Regions from separate parts of the Homo sapiens genome. Here all the other regions are linked to region 4. Evidence: promoter capture Hi-C in 16 types of primary human blood cells and fetal thymus (Javierre and others, 2016). All regions are on one chromosome and are shown on one strand. The core of a region is centred on a gene start or on the middle of the fragment in contact, and the rest is flanking DNA. Distances in the headings are between cores, read along the strand shown. Region 1 holds the start of EED (embryonic ectoderm development). Region 2 holds the start of HIKESHI (heat shock protein nuclear import factor hikeshi). Region 3 overlaps PICALM (phosphatidylinositol binding clathrin assembly protein). Region 4 holds the start of TAF1D (TATA-box binding protein associated factor, RNA polymerase I subunit D).

Region 1 (2,700 bases), core at 74-2,573, 7.5 Mb after region 4:
AACCCACACTTAAATACATCTGCCTATACCACTGTTGCCCAAAATCTTCCAGGTCGCCACCCCCCTCACCTTTATCTTAAGTAAAAACGTTCAAAGAAGAAATCACCCACTCTTACTTCCTCAAAGGTAGTCACTCCCCACCCCCAAATCAAAAATCGATCCTCTCAATTCGGCTCCTCCTACAGAAAAGGCGACCTTCAGGCGCACCCGGTCTCCGCGGACAGGACGGAGGCGGACACAAAACCCCCTTTAATAAAGTCTCCCAAACTCCGCAAATCGAAGATCACTTTCCATCCTGAAAATTCCACAAGGGTCTTAGAGTGACAACCCTTACGCTCCTTTAACAGGGTCCCTAACTCTGCCCCGTCCTTCCAACTTTCTTAGAAAAGTCTCTAACGTGCCTTTTAAACTACTAGAATCTCAGACCCGCACTCTCCCCTTAAATCCCCCCAAAGGCCAAAACACTCCCCATCACATGCAAACTGATTTCAGGGCAGACTTCTCAGACCCACGCAATCACTAGAACCACTCTCCTTTGCCTAGTTCCTGCTTGCTCTCGGCCCCACATCAAAATCCCCGTAGGCAATTTCAATTTTCTCCCGCACGCCCGCGTTTTCCTGAGTGACACCTCTCCCTCCCCCCACAGCAGCCCGCTCGTCCCCGCGCCCCCCGTTTTAAAAGAATTTAAAACTTTCACTCCGCAGTCTCGTAACTGCCAGAAGCTGCACTTACATTCTCGTCTCCAGAGAGGTCTGGATTGCTGTTCTCGTCACTGCTCAGCTTCTGCTTCTTGGCCGCAGGCATGTCTGTTCCCGCCGGCGCAGTCGACACTTCCCTCTCGGACATATTCCTCCGCCTCCCTCCAGGTTCCTGCCGCCTGGGGCGGGGCCTCCGCCACACCGCCGTCAAGCAAGCCCGGCCCGAGCTTGCCGCAAAGTTGCCGCTGCCGCCGCCACCTCCACCGCCCCCCCCACTGTCGCAAATCGCGCCCAGCCGCCGAGGCGGGCGTGCGTGCGACCCCGCCACACTGCTGAAAAAGGGGCGCGCGCGCGCGCCCTCCCGCGCGGCTTCCTGGCTCCTTCCCTTCCCCAACTCCCGTCTTGCCCTTTTCCCGCCGCCCTCCCGGCAGTCTACACGATGTAAGGTCCGTTGGATTAAGAGGGCAGTATTAAGTATGTCTCCCTTCCCACCACCGCCTCGAGAAGAGGCGAAACTCAAAGGGATGCTCCCTCACCCCCTTCCTCCTTCCAAAGACGTTTCAGCCGCAATTGGCCCGTTCCTTCGATCTCCGACCCGCTGCTAGGGAGCGAAAGTCTGTGGAATGGGCTACACCACCAATGTCCCAGGAAACGGGGGAAGATACAAGACGTCACCTCTTGCTTTAGCTGTGCATGCCACGTTTCCTTAATCTTGAACTTGGAGGACAGCGCTTCCTGACTATTCACGGAACTATTCATAACCTAATTCTTCCTTGAAGATAGAAATGCAAAAACAGTAACCTGCTTCCCCCTGGCTTCCCCCATCTGGCGAATGGAAAGTACCCGTCAGGGGATGCGCAGGCGCCGTGGCGTACTCTTGCGCTGGGTTCGTCGAAACCCGCCTCCTCCAAGCCCCTCCTCTGTTTGAATTCTCGTTTGCTGAACCAGGTAGTTTTCTACCCGGTTTCCGAATCCCAGGGTGGATTTCAAAGCGCTACCGAATTATACTCTAGACGCTTCGTAAATTCTTGTCGGATATTTATTCTGTTGACTATTTATTGTAATGAATGATTATCCTTCCAGTTGCTACCAATAGTGGTTAAGACTTAAATAGAAATATCCTAACATTATGAGACTAGACTCCAATGAGTTACAGCCAAAGTGCTCTTTTTAGCTGCTAAAGGATAGGCCCTGAACTACGCCAAGGCCTAAGAATCAGTGCTCATCTCCATTATGAGATTGTGATACTTAACCGACAATGTTTTGCTTGTTTTTGCACATCAGATACAATGAAATTCTAGAAGGCAACACAACTGTTAAACTTCACCAAAATATTTGCCTCTGTTACTATATCTATTCTCTAGCAGGTGCCAGATAACATTGGTGAGCCTTGTGGAATTATTATATGGGTCATGAAACCATAACTGAATGAGCAGCAGGAAAAGGAGAGTGATGACGAAAAATAAAATACGGCATCCGCCACCTTTTTTTTGTTTTTCTTAGAACATGATTGTGACTACTTATCTATTCGGGCTTCTGTAAAAATGTCCTCATCTGTAAAAATGAGGAGGCAGGAAGGGAGAAAGGGACCTACCATTTCTTGGGCACCTGCTTGATGTTGTATATCTTTTCTCTTCTAGACCTCATTACCCACCTAGAGTGCACCATCCATAAAATTCTAGTATACTTGAATTATTTCTGCATGATAACTTTATAACCAGGACATCAGTTTCCTTATCTGCAGATTGCAAGTCACTCTTTCTTTTGTAGATAAAGAGAGAACTCTTGGTTGAGAATGAGAAAAGGAAGTAAAGCAAAGGCAGGTCAGAATGAGAGGTTTCTGCAGTGAAGACTTTGAAATAAAGAAGCCGAAAAAAAATTAAAGTTGAGGTCTCAATGACGGCAGTCATTTGTTCAGTACTTCCAATGTTCCAGGCACTACTAAGCACTCCTCAGTTGGTGAGAAGAGATGAGACTGGAGTAGAGTAAGCTCCTGACAAAG
Region 2 (2,700 bases), core at 128-2,627, 7.4 Mb after region 4:
GACAACGTGAGAGATACATGGATTCCAAATAGGCTTTTTATTCTTTAAGAAACACAATTTTAATGTCATTCATTAATAACACTCACTCGTCTGAGTCACACAATCATTCCAGGTTTGTCCTTTTTCCCTATTAAGAGCAGGGCAAAATTATCTCACCAGGATTATGAATTACCACCATCACCACAGGGGTCTCCCAGTCATTCAAGAGACAAACTTTATGAGGCTAGTCATCTCCAACTTATCTTTCTGGCTTCTTAGAACTGTATATGTACAGAATACAATACATTATCAAAACTTGATGGGAAAAAAAGACAATTCAGCAAAGGGACTGCAACATTTTAAAAAGCCAGGAGAAAAAAGAAGGAAAAATACTTCTAGGGGAAAGGAATCAGGCCTGAAAATTGATGTCTGTGTGGTTTCTAAGGAAACAAACAAGATTCACCTTCCAGATTATTCCTAAAGAATTCCAGGTGCTGTTCTCATTTACTCTAACAATTTGGCAAGGTAAGTTATCTATTTTGACCCATAAGGAAACACACTACTCGCATCCTTCTCTGGTTATCTCAGATACGGCTCACACGTTAAGTTTCAGCCAACTTCCAATTAAATTAAGCTTATTTTTACTCGGGTTCTTCCAAAGGGACCCAAAAGATATACATTCCCTGAGCACCTTAATCTTTGAAAAACAGTTTGCTATAGACCAAATTCAATCCCAAATTCACCTCTACCTCAAGTTAATAAAGAAGGTATTTATACTGGCGATTGAACTTAGTTCTGTAACTGCAAAATGTCAAAGATAAAGACCATCTCACGAGTTATGAGGATTAAGTTCAAAGTGCCAAATAAGCGCCACACATAAGGCTGAGTGACCAAAGGCGTGCATTGCACTTAGCCCAGTACTTGGTACAAAATGCACACTTAATAAATGCCAACTTATACTGTGACTACTATTCGAAAGAATCTGAATAGAGCTGGGCAAAGGAGAGCACCCAGCTTCCCACGCTCCATCCTCACATACCCACCCAAAATATAATAAGTGGGCTTCCCCGCATCCCTAGCGCCTGCGCACCCTCCCTGCCGTAGGGCTTCGCCCTCGGTATCCTGACCCCTTCCTGATATCACCCGGTCCCATCCTCACCAGCCTCCCCGCCACCAAGCAGCCAAACATGGCGACGGCAGCTCCGTTCAGCCGGCAGTGACCTGAAGCCGGCGACTAGGAGTCCTGGGGCTACTGCCCTAGTCGAGACTAAGAACCTTCCAGAATTTGCGGGAGGGTGTCTGCCCCTCCACTACATAGTGACTGGGCCAGCGGCAAGAATGCCTCTGCCCCCGCGAACTCTGACCTTCTCTTCCTAAGCAGCCCACTGCTCAGGCAACAAGTACTTCCGGGGCTTACACCCGGTTTTCCCCACTAAGGAAGAAAGGCGGGCCAGCGCCAGTACAAGACTACAAGTCCCAGAACAAGTCCCAGAGGGCACCGCGCCAGTTTCCGGGAAGGTAAGCCTGGAGGCTTTGCACACTGGGATCGGTAGTCCGGGTGTTTTATAGCCACAAAATCTGTGGATCCTTCATTTCCATGTACAATCCTGGGAAGAGATGCTTCTAACGTTTCTGTGACATCTGAGAGATTAACGGTGCACTTTTACAATAATCACGTCACTAGATCTTTACAAAAACCCTATGAGGTAAGTATTATAATCCAAATTTTATAGGAGTGATCAGCCTCAAATCTTTACACAGCAGTAAATGTTGGAGGCTGAATTCAAGTCCTAATCCAAATCCGGGTTTCTTTCTGCTACACAGTGTCTCAGAAGTATTAATCTTTAACCAATTGTTTTGTACTTGTCTACAATTTATAGTAGTTCTTTCCAGCTTCACTTAGTTCTCCCATTCATTTGCTGTACAATTGTGGACGAGTTGTAGATGTCTTTGTGCTTCAGTGCCCCTCCTTTGCAAAAGACAAATAATGAGCCTATTGCCTAGGGTTGCTGTGAGGATTAAATGAGCTAATATGTATAAAACACTTAAAACAGTGCTTGGCTGTGCTTAATTAGTGGGAGTTTTATTGTAAAAATGTCTATTTTTTTTCTATGTGGATCTGCAGAAAAGTTTCATAGGAAATACAAAACAATAGCCAAAAAAAAAAAAAAAAATACTGGCATTAAGTACCGATTGCCACCAATACTTATTCTCCCTTTCACAGCTCCAATTCCTTTTCTTCTTGAATAGGATAGTAAAGGGTCTCTGTCCAATTTGAAATATCTGAGCTTGGCCACCAGCCGTAAAGCAGGTCTGTCTTCCCAGTTCTCAGTTTATATATGGGGGATCAGTGTTTGGAACAGTCCTCTGGCCTCCACTGTGGATCCCTAAACTGATCACCTATCTTATCACCGATACTCCTTTGAGATAGCTGTGCCAAAGGTGAAGAGGTAGGAAAGGATCTACCAATGTTTCCAACTTACTATCTAAAAAGTCCTAGAACCTTCAGAATAAAAAGGCCATTCATATGAAGACCACTTCATAAATTAAGGCACCCACACTACCTGGGTTCAGAGCCCATCTCTGCCATTTATTAGTTACATAATCTCAGGCAAGTTAACCTAACACTCCCATACCTCCTTTTCCCCATCTTTAAAATGAAGTAATAGTAGTATCTACCTCATAAAGTTGTTTTGAGGGTTCTTACACGTAAAGTACTCA
Region 3 (2,700 bases), core at 168-2,667, 7.7 Mb after region 4:
TTCCTTCCCACCCGTCCGGTGCCGCCTCGTCGCCCTCGTCTGAGCGTCTCCAAGCCCCATTGTTTCTTCATCAGCCTCCTTCGGGTTTCAGTAAACGCCTGGTTCCTTGCATCCAGATCCTTGTTATCCCTCCGGGCTGCCTCCCTGGAAGGGATCCCCCACTTCCTTTGCTCCACTAGCTGCTTCGCCCATCCCTTCCTGGCTTTCTGTTCCACCTTCCCTCCTGCTTTTGGGTTACCTTTTCATCGCCTCTATAGTAGCTTCAGTGTAGTTTCTTCGACTCATTTTAAATACCATACCCAGTTACCCGACTTTTATTTCAGATTACCTTCTTTGTGGGAGTGAAAGTAAAAGGATTCAATTTGGTGTAGGGAAAGCTTTCTGGAAAGTTGGGATTTTTATTTGCCTCTGGTGGAATTTAATCGTTGTGTTGTCCATACTTTTGACTGGGGTGAGTTTGTGACTGTCAGCTCTGCCCCCCAGCTTTTCACATGGGGATATGGAAAAAGGCATTTTGCTGATACTCTTATCAGTTCCTGGAACTGTTAATTCTGGCGGCTTGAATTCAGAAGCTTGAGTGTTAAGCGTAGACTGTTGGAATTCCAAATGGATTAATAAATTTACTTACAAATAACATACATCCCTTAAAAAAATTGGCAAAATGATGTTTGATGATGCTTGAGTTTGGATGTTTTAATTATGCCAGTTACCTTTTGAGGAACTAGCTTTAGCTTCTCTTACACGACATAGTATTCGTCCATTCGCTAACGTAGATACAATTAGTAGAGCTAACTCCTCGTAACTTTTTTCTAACCTGGAAGTCACCTGTAATACCCTCCTTTTTCTTTGCGCTCTTTTACCCCAGGGTACAAAGCTCATTGGATCACTCAAGCCAATGGAGCTTAGACCTGAAACTTTTCAGGGAAAAATAGGGCAATAGTCACGATAAGTAAGTTCCCTTTTTAAATGACTGGACACATTAGTCTGACTGACTTTCATCATACATGAAAGTTACTTTGTTTTACTGTTTGAAGCAAGAGTGAGCATGCCCTGAAAGATAATTCACTGTCTGGAAGCCTGTTTTGATTTCTCATTTGGACTTTGGCCGTAAAGTTTGCACTTTAAAAAAAATGTACGAAATGTAGATTCTTCCAAGTTACTGTGCTCATGAATGCTGTTAGAACAAGTTTTTGCTACACAGAAGCCTATTATTCTTTGTGATTGTTCCTCCACTGTGGAAAAAAGTTTTAAATAAAAAAGCATTAGTGCTTGATTCTTTCAGATATGCATGCAGGCTGCTTTTAAACTCTCAGTCCTTGCTTGTCTTAGAGAATGGAGAATATGTTTAAATGGTGACACTCTTATGAACAGAAAACTTTTTAAAATGCATCGTAAAGCCATATGTGATTTTTTGATTATCTGATACGTGTAGTAGACGTTTCTGCTATTTACGGCTCTTCAAATACTACTTGGTTTGCCCTACCAAATCTTACAGTTTGTCCTGACACTGTGTTAATTCTTTTGTTAGTTGCTTTTGGTTTTTTTTTGTTTTTTTTTTTTGTATGGGAGTATGAAGAAACTAGTTGTGACTGTGTGAACTATTTTCCTCTTTCCTCATTCAAAATAAGAATCGATAAGGCTTTTAAAAGTTTTTTTTGTAAAGGTTTGTGTCTTATTTCAAATGTAGCAGTGGTTCTTTTAAAGCATTGTCAAAAAGAGGAGAAAATAGGTAGGGTTAGAAGAGTGCTATTTGCATGTTGTTTCATAAATGTTATTAGCTATTTCTCTTGTTATAGCCACTACTGCAGATAGATGGTAACTGGGATTAGGTTTGGAGGATAATCTTGCATTTGTCGTTCTTTTTCTCTACCACTTCTGTGTTTACAAGCTCCCACGTTTTTGGAACTTGAATATACCTGGTAGTATTTGATTTAAAAATATATGTGTCGTTAATGTGCTTCTGTTTCTTTTCAATGAGGTTTTAAAATACAGGGATACTATTTTCCCTACATTGTTGATTAAAATGTCCTGTAATCAGTTCTCACTAATAAAATACCTTTATCTTAGGTAAAGTCTGACCAGTGAGTGGTTTACTAAACAAATACCTTCCTTGCACACACTAACATGCTTTGAGAAAATTAAAAAGTCTTCTACGGACAGTTCATGGTGTTGACATCATGAACTTTAGGCTTTAATACAGAAACCTGTCATTTCAAGTAATTTTTTGTCTTTTAGGAATTTTTCTTTATAGTGAAAGCTTAGTTTATGTGCACCTTTTAATGCCCCTAGCAACTGATGCTTATTTATATGAATCTAATGAAAATGATTTCATTTTAAAATGGCAGCATTTAACAAAAAATATGCTTAGGACTGTTGTTTTTCGTATAAGCCCTTAGAGTGTGGAGGTGGTTTCTGTCAGTTTCTCGCCAAGATCTTTCCACATTAGGAAGTGATTATTAATAATTCATGAATTATGGCTTAATTCATACTACATTATATACTTACTGAAGAAAGATTTTTTTGCTTTGCTTATACTGTAGGTGTTAGTGGATAATAGTGTTGACTAGCATCCCTAGTGTGAAAGAGTTGTCAAACTTGAAATATGTTTGTAAAAATAAACACGATTTCCGTTTAATCTTAGGCCTTTAGTAGCCATAATCAAGGTAGAGGAATAGCAGCCCTTATATTTGAAGAACTTCA
Region 4 (2,700 bases), core at 41-2,540:
ACCCTGTGGATCAAATGCAGTGGGCTGCCTAAAGGATCGGACTTTTTATCCCCGGAATTGTCCAAACTATGGAGCAAAGCAGGTAAAGAGACCAGATTACTTTTAAGGCCCGTTCAATCCTAAAATGTGAACTATAAAATAAGACTAGACAGCTTTACTGATTTTTGTGGTTTATCATATGAAAACAGAATTTTGAAAGCGGAAAAATCAAACCAGTTCATTCCTTTTTAAAATTACTTTGGGAGGCCGAGGCGGGAGGATCACCTGAGGTCGGGAGTTTGAGACCAGCCTGACCAACATGGAGAAACCCCCGCCTCTACTAAAAATGCAAAAATTAGCTGGGCATGGTGGCGCACGCCTGTAATCTCAGCTACTGGGGAGACTGAGGCAGGAGAATCGCTTGAACCCGGGAAGCAGATGTTGCGGTGAGCCAAGATCGCACCGTTGCACTCCAGCCTGGGCAACAAGAGCGAAACTCGGTCTCAAAAAAAAAAAAATTACTTTGGGAGAAAAAAACCCCACCAAAACTAAACTAGTTTACACTGTTTAATCTTAACTCAGGAACCGGTCAAGGAACTAATGGTGTGGGGCAGGGGGGATGTAGGAGGAAACTTAGGAAAAACAAATCCTCCACAGGTCTCACTTGTGACATGTTAGCCAACTCCTGGGAGGCAGAAAGGGTGAGCTTACGAAACAGGTGCAAAAGTGGGGAGGAGACCTGGGCGTGCTATGGAATAACACTGGCGTCCAGCACAAAGGTTACACACTTCGAGTCATGGTCAAAGAATGAGCCTTCTCCAATATTTTAACACACAAGGGTTTCTGAAGGCAGAAATAGACAAAGGATTACAAAACACTCAGGCACACATCCCACCCGTCACCCTCGCCACACACCCGGGACCAGATTTAGAAAGCCAGGCGACAGCTCAGCAAACGCGAGACCACCGGAAACGAACCGGGCTGAGAGGCTGTTTCCTCACAGTTCTCATCCACTCACAAGTGACCGCACGTTTTGTTTTTGTTATTTGCCGAAATGTTCTTGGCTATTCCACTCACCTAAACGGTCACGGTAGCAAAACACCCAGAGTCCGGATCTTCGCCTAGGCCAACCCCGCCTCCTCAGAATACGCGAGCTAGAGCTCCGCCCACGTTAGTCAGTCCTCCCTGCGCGGCGAGAAAAATGGCGCCCCCACGTCGCGTCTCCTCCCACCGCTCGCCTTCTTCCCGGAAGCTAAGTTGTATCGCGAGATTTCGGCCTGACTATTACTTGGGCCACGGAAATAGCCAACCCTTTTCTTCCGCACGGTTGGAGGAGGTCGGCTGGTTATCGGGAGTTGGAGGGCTGAGGTCGGGAGGGTGGTGTGTACAGAGCTCTAGGACACCAGGCCAGTCGCGGGTTTTGGGCCGAGGCCTGGGTTACAAGCAGCAAGTGCGCGGTTGGGGCCACTGCGAGGCCGTTTTAGGTAGGTTGCTAAGAGGGCGAGGCCGTCCGGGCCTGGCGGGCGGGGGAGGCGTTGCATATCTGGGGTTTCCCGGGGCCCCTTCGTTGGTCCGGAGGATCGAGACTCCGAAGTCGGTCCGAGAGGGTGAAGGGATCACGGCCGCAGGCCACTCCGCGCCACGCGGCTGGTATGAGTCCCACACAAACGTGGTTGTAGTGTGGACGGGCTTCATTATATCTTGAGATGGAGGTGTTAAATCGTGTTGCGGACAAGTTTAACCTTATTACGTGATTTAAATGATTTAACCTTCGTATGTGAGGTACCCATTACTCGCGCCGGTTTTCTGCAGGTTAGGCGCTGCCGGGTGAGAGGCGCTGGTGGTCACAGCGTTAGCTCCGGGTAAAGCGCCGCTCTCTGCCCACGTGGCCTCTAAGAATTGCAGAATCCCCACGGAGGCATCGACACCCAAGTAGGAGTGTCTTCTAAACACTTCGAAAAAGTGATTATTGAGCTAGCTTTATTTTGATAATCCCTACTTTTAAAAAAAATTAACTACAGGTATACCGTTAAAGCATGGGGGCAAATTTTTGTTGAATTCCGTTTTTGAGCATTCGATATTTAATGACTTTGTAGAATCTTGTACTTAAAAAAACTAGTAAGACCTTGTACCAGGAAAATACCACAGGGGGCATTTAACAAATCTGAGCTCTTGGTGACCTTATCGTTTCATATTTTAAATATTTTGCTAGTTCATCCTAGGATTTATATGTAATGACTCATGTCAGGTCCCAAGAAGCTACAGAATGAGACAAGAGATTGACTAAGGCATGTACAATAATGAAATAAGTAGTTATCTTTAATTTTTGTTGCCATGCCTTTTTTTTTTTTTTTTTTTTTTTTTTTTTTTTTCCTGAGACAGGGTCTTGCTCTGTCGTCCAGGCTGGAGTGCAGTGGTGCAATCTCGGCTAACAGCAACCTCCACCGCGGCTTAAGCGATCCTCCCGAGTGGCTGGGAGCAAAGGCACGGGCCAACACACCTAGCCAGTATTTTAAGAATTTTTTGTAGAGACAAGGGTCTCCTTGTGTTGCTGAGGCTCACTACATACAAGCTCCACCTCCCAGGCTCAGGTATTCCACCTACCCCAGCCTCCTGACCACAGGCGCGCGCCACTATTCTGGCTAATTTCCGTATTTTTTGTAGAGACGGAGTTTCACCACGTTGCCCAGGTTGGTCTTGAGCTCCTGGGCTCAAGCGATC

Evidence for each region. Contacts are between HindIII fragments. The CHiCAGO score rates a contact against its expected background, and 5 or more counts as called.
Region 1: a contact is called between the fragment with the promoter of EED here and the fragment with the promoter of TAF1D in region 4, in 1 of 17 cell types (neutrophils). The highest score is 7.6, in neutrophils.
Region 2: the fragment with the promoter of HIKESHI here is called in contact with the fragment with the promoter of TAF1D in region 4 in 2 of 17 cell types (non-activated CD4 T cells and naive CD8 T cells); the score reaches 7.5 in non-activated CD4 T cells.
Region 3: a contact is called between a fragment that was not itself captured here and the fragment with the promoter of TAF1D in region 4, in 1 of 17 cell types (total CD4 T cells). The highest score is 5.1, in total CD4 T cells.

Annotation. Positions count from the first base shown.
Region 1 is chr11:86,243,376-86,246,075 of GRCh38, reverse strand. EED (embryonic ectoderm development) reads right to left here and starts at 1,323. Exons shown (of 12, transcript NM_003797.5): 1 at 733-1,323. The coding sequence starts at 846. RefSeq lists enhancers at 811-1,339, 1,340-1,870. The HindIII fragment of the contact is 4,943 bases long and covers 1-2,700 here.
Region 2 is chr11:86,300,917-86,303,616 of GRCh38, reverse strand. HIKESHI (heat shock protein nuclear import factor hikeshi) reads right to left here and starts at 1,377. Exons shown (of 5, transcript NM_016401.4): 1 at 1,139-1,377. The coding sequence starts at 1,168. The HindIII fragment of the contact is 4,753 bases long and covers 616-2,700 here.
Region 3 is chr11:86,065,607-86,068,306 of GRCh38, reverse strand. The region is part of intron 1 of PICALM (phosphatidylinositol binding clathrin assembly protein); the gene reads left to right. Among named protein-coding and RNA genes, the nearest start is that of PICALM, 2.1 kb to the left of the region's middle. RefSeq lists an enhancer at 1-577. The HindIII fragment of the contact is 1,685 bases long and covers 575-2,259 here.
Region 4 is chr11:93,740,085-93,742,784 of GRCh38, reverse strand. TAF1D (TATA-box binding protein associated factor, RNA polymerase I subunit D) reads left to right here and starts at 1,290. Exons shown (of 6, transcript NM_024116.4): 1 at 1,290-1,463. It overlaps C11orf54 (chromosome 11 open reading frame 54), which reads right to left and starts at 1,113. Exons shown (of 9, transcript NM_001286069.2): 1 at 1,057-1,113. RefSeq lists enhancers at 421-540, 307-992, 1,121-1,630. The HindIII fragment of the contact is 24,379 bases long and covers 1-2,700 here.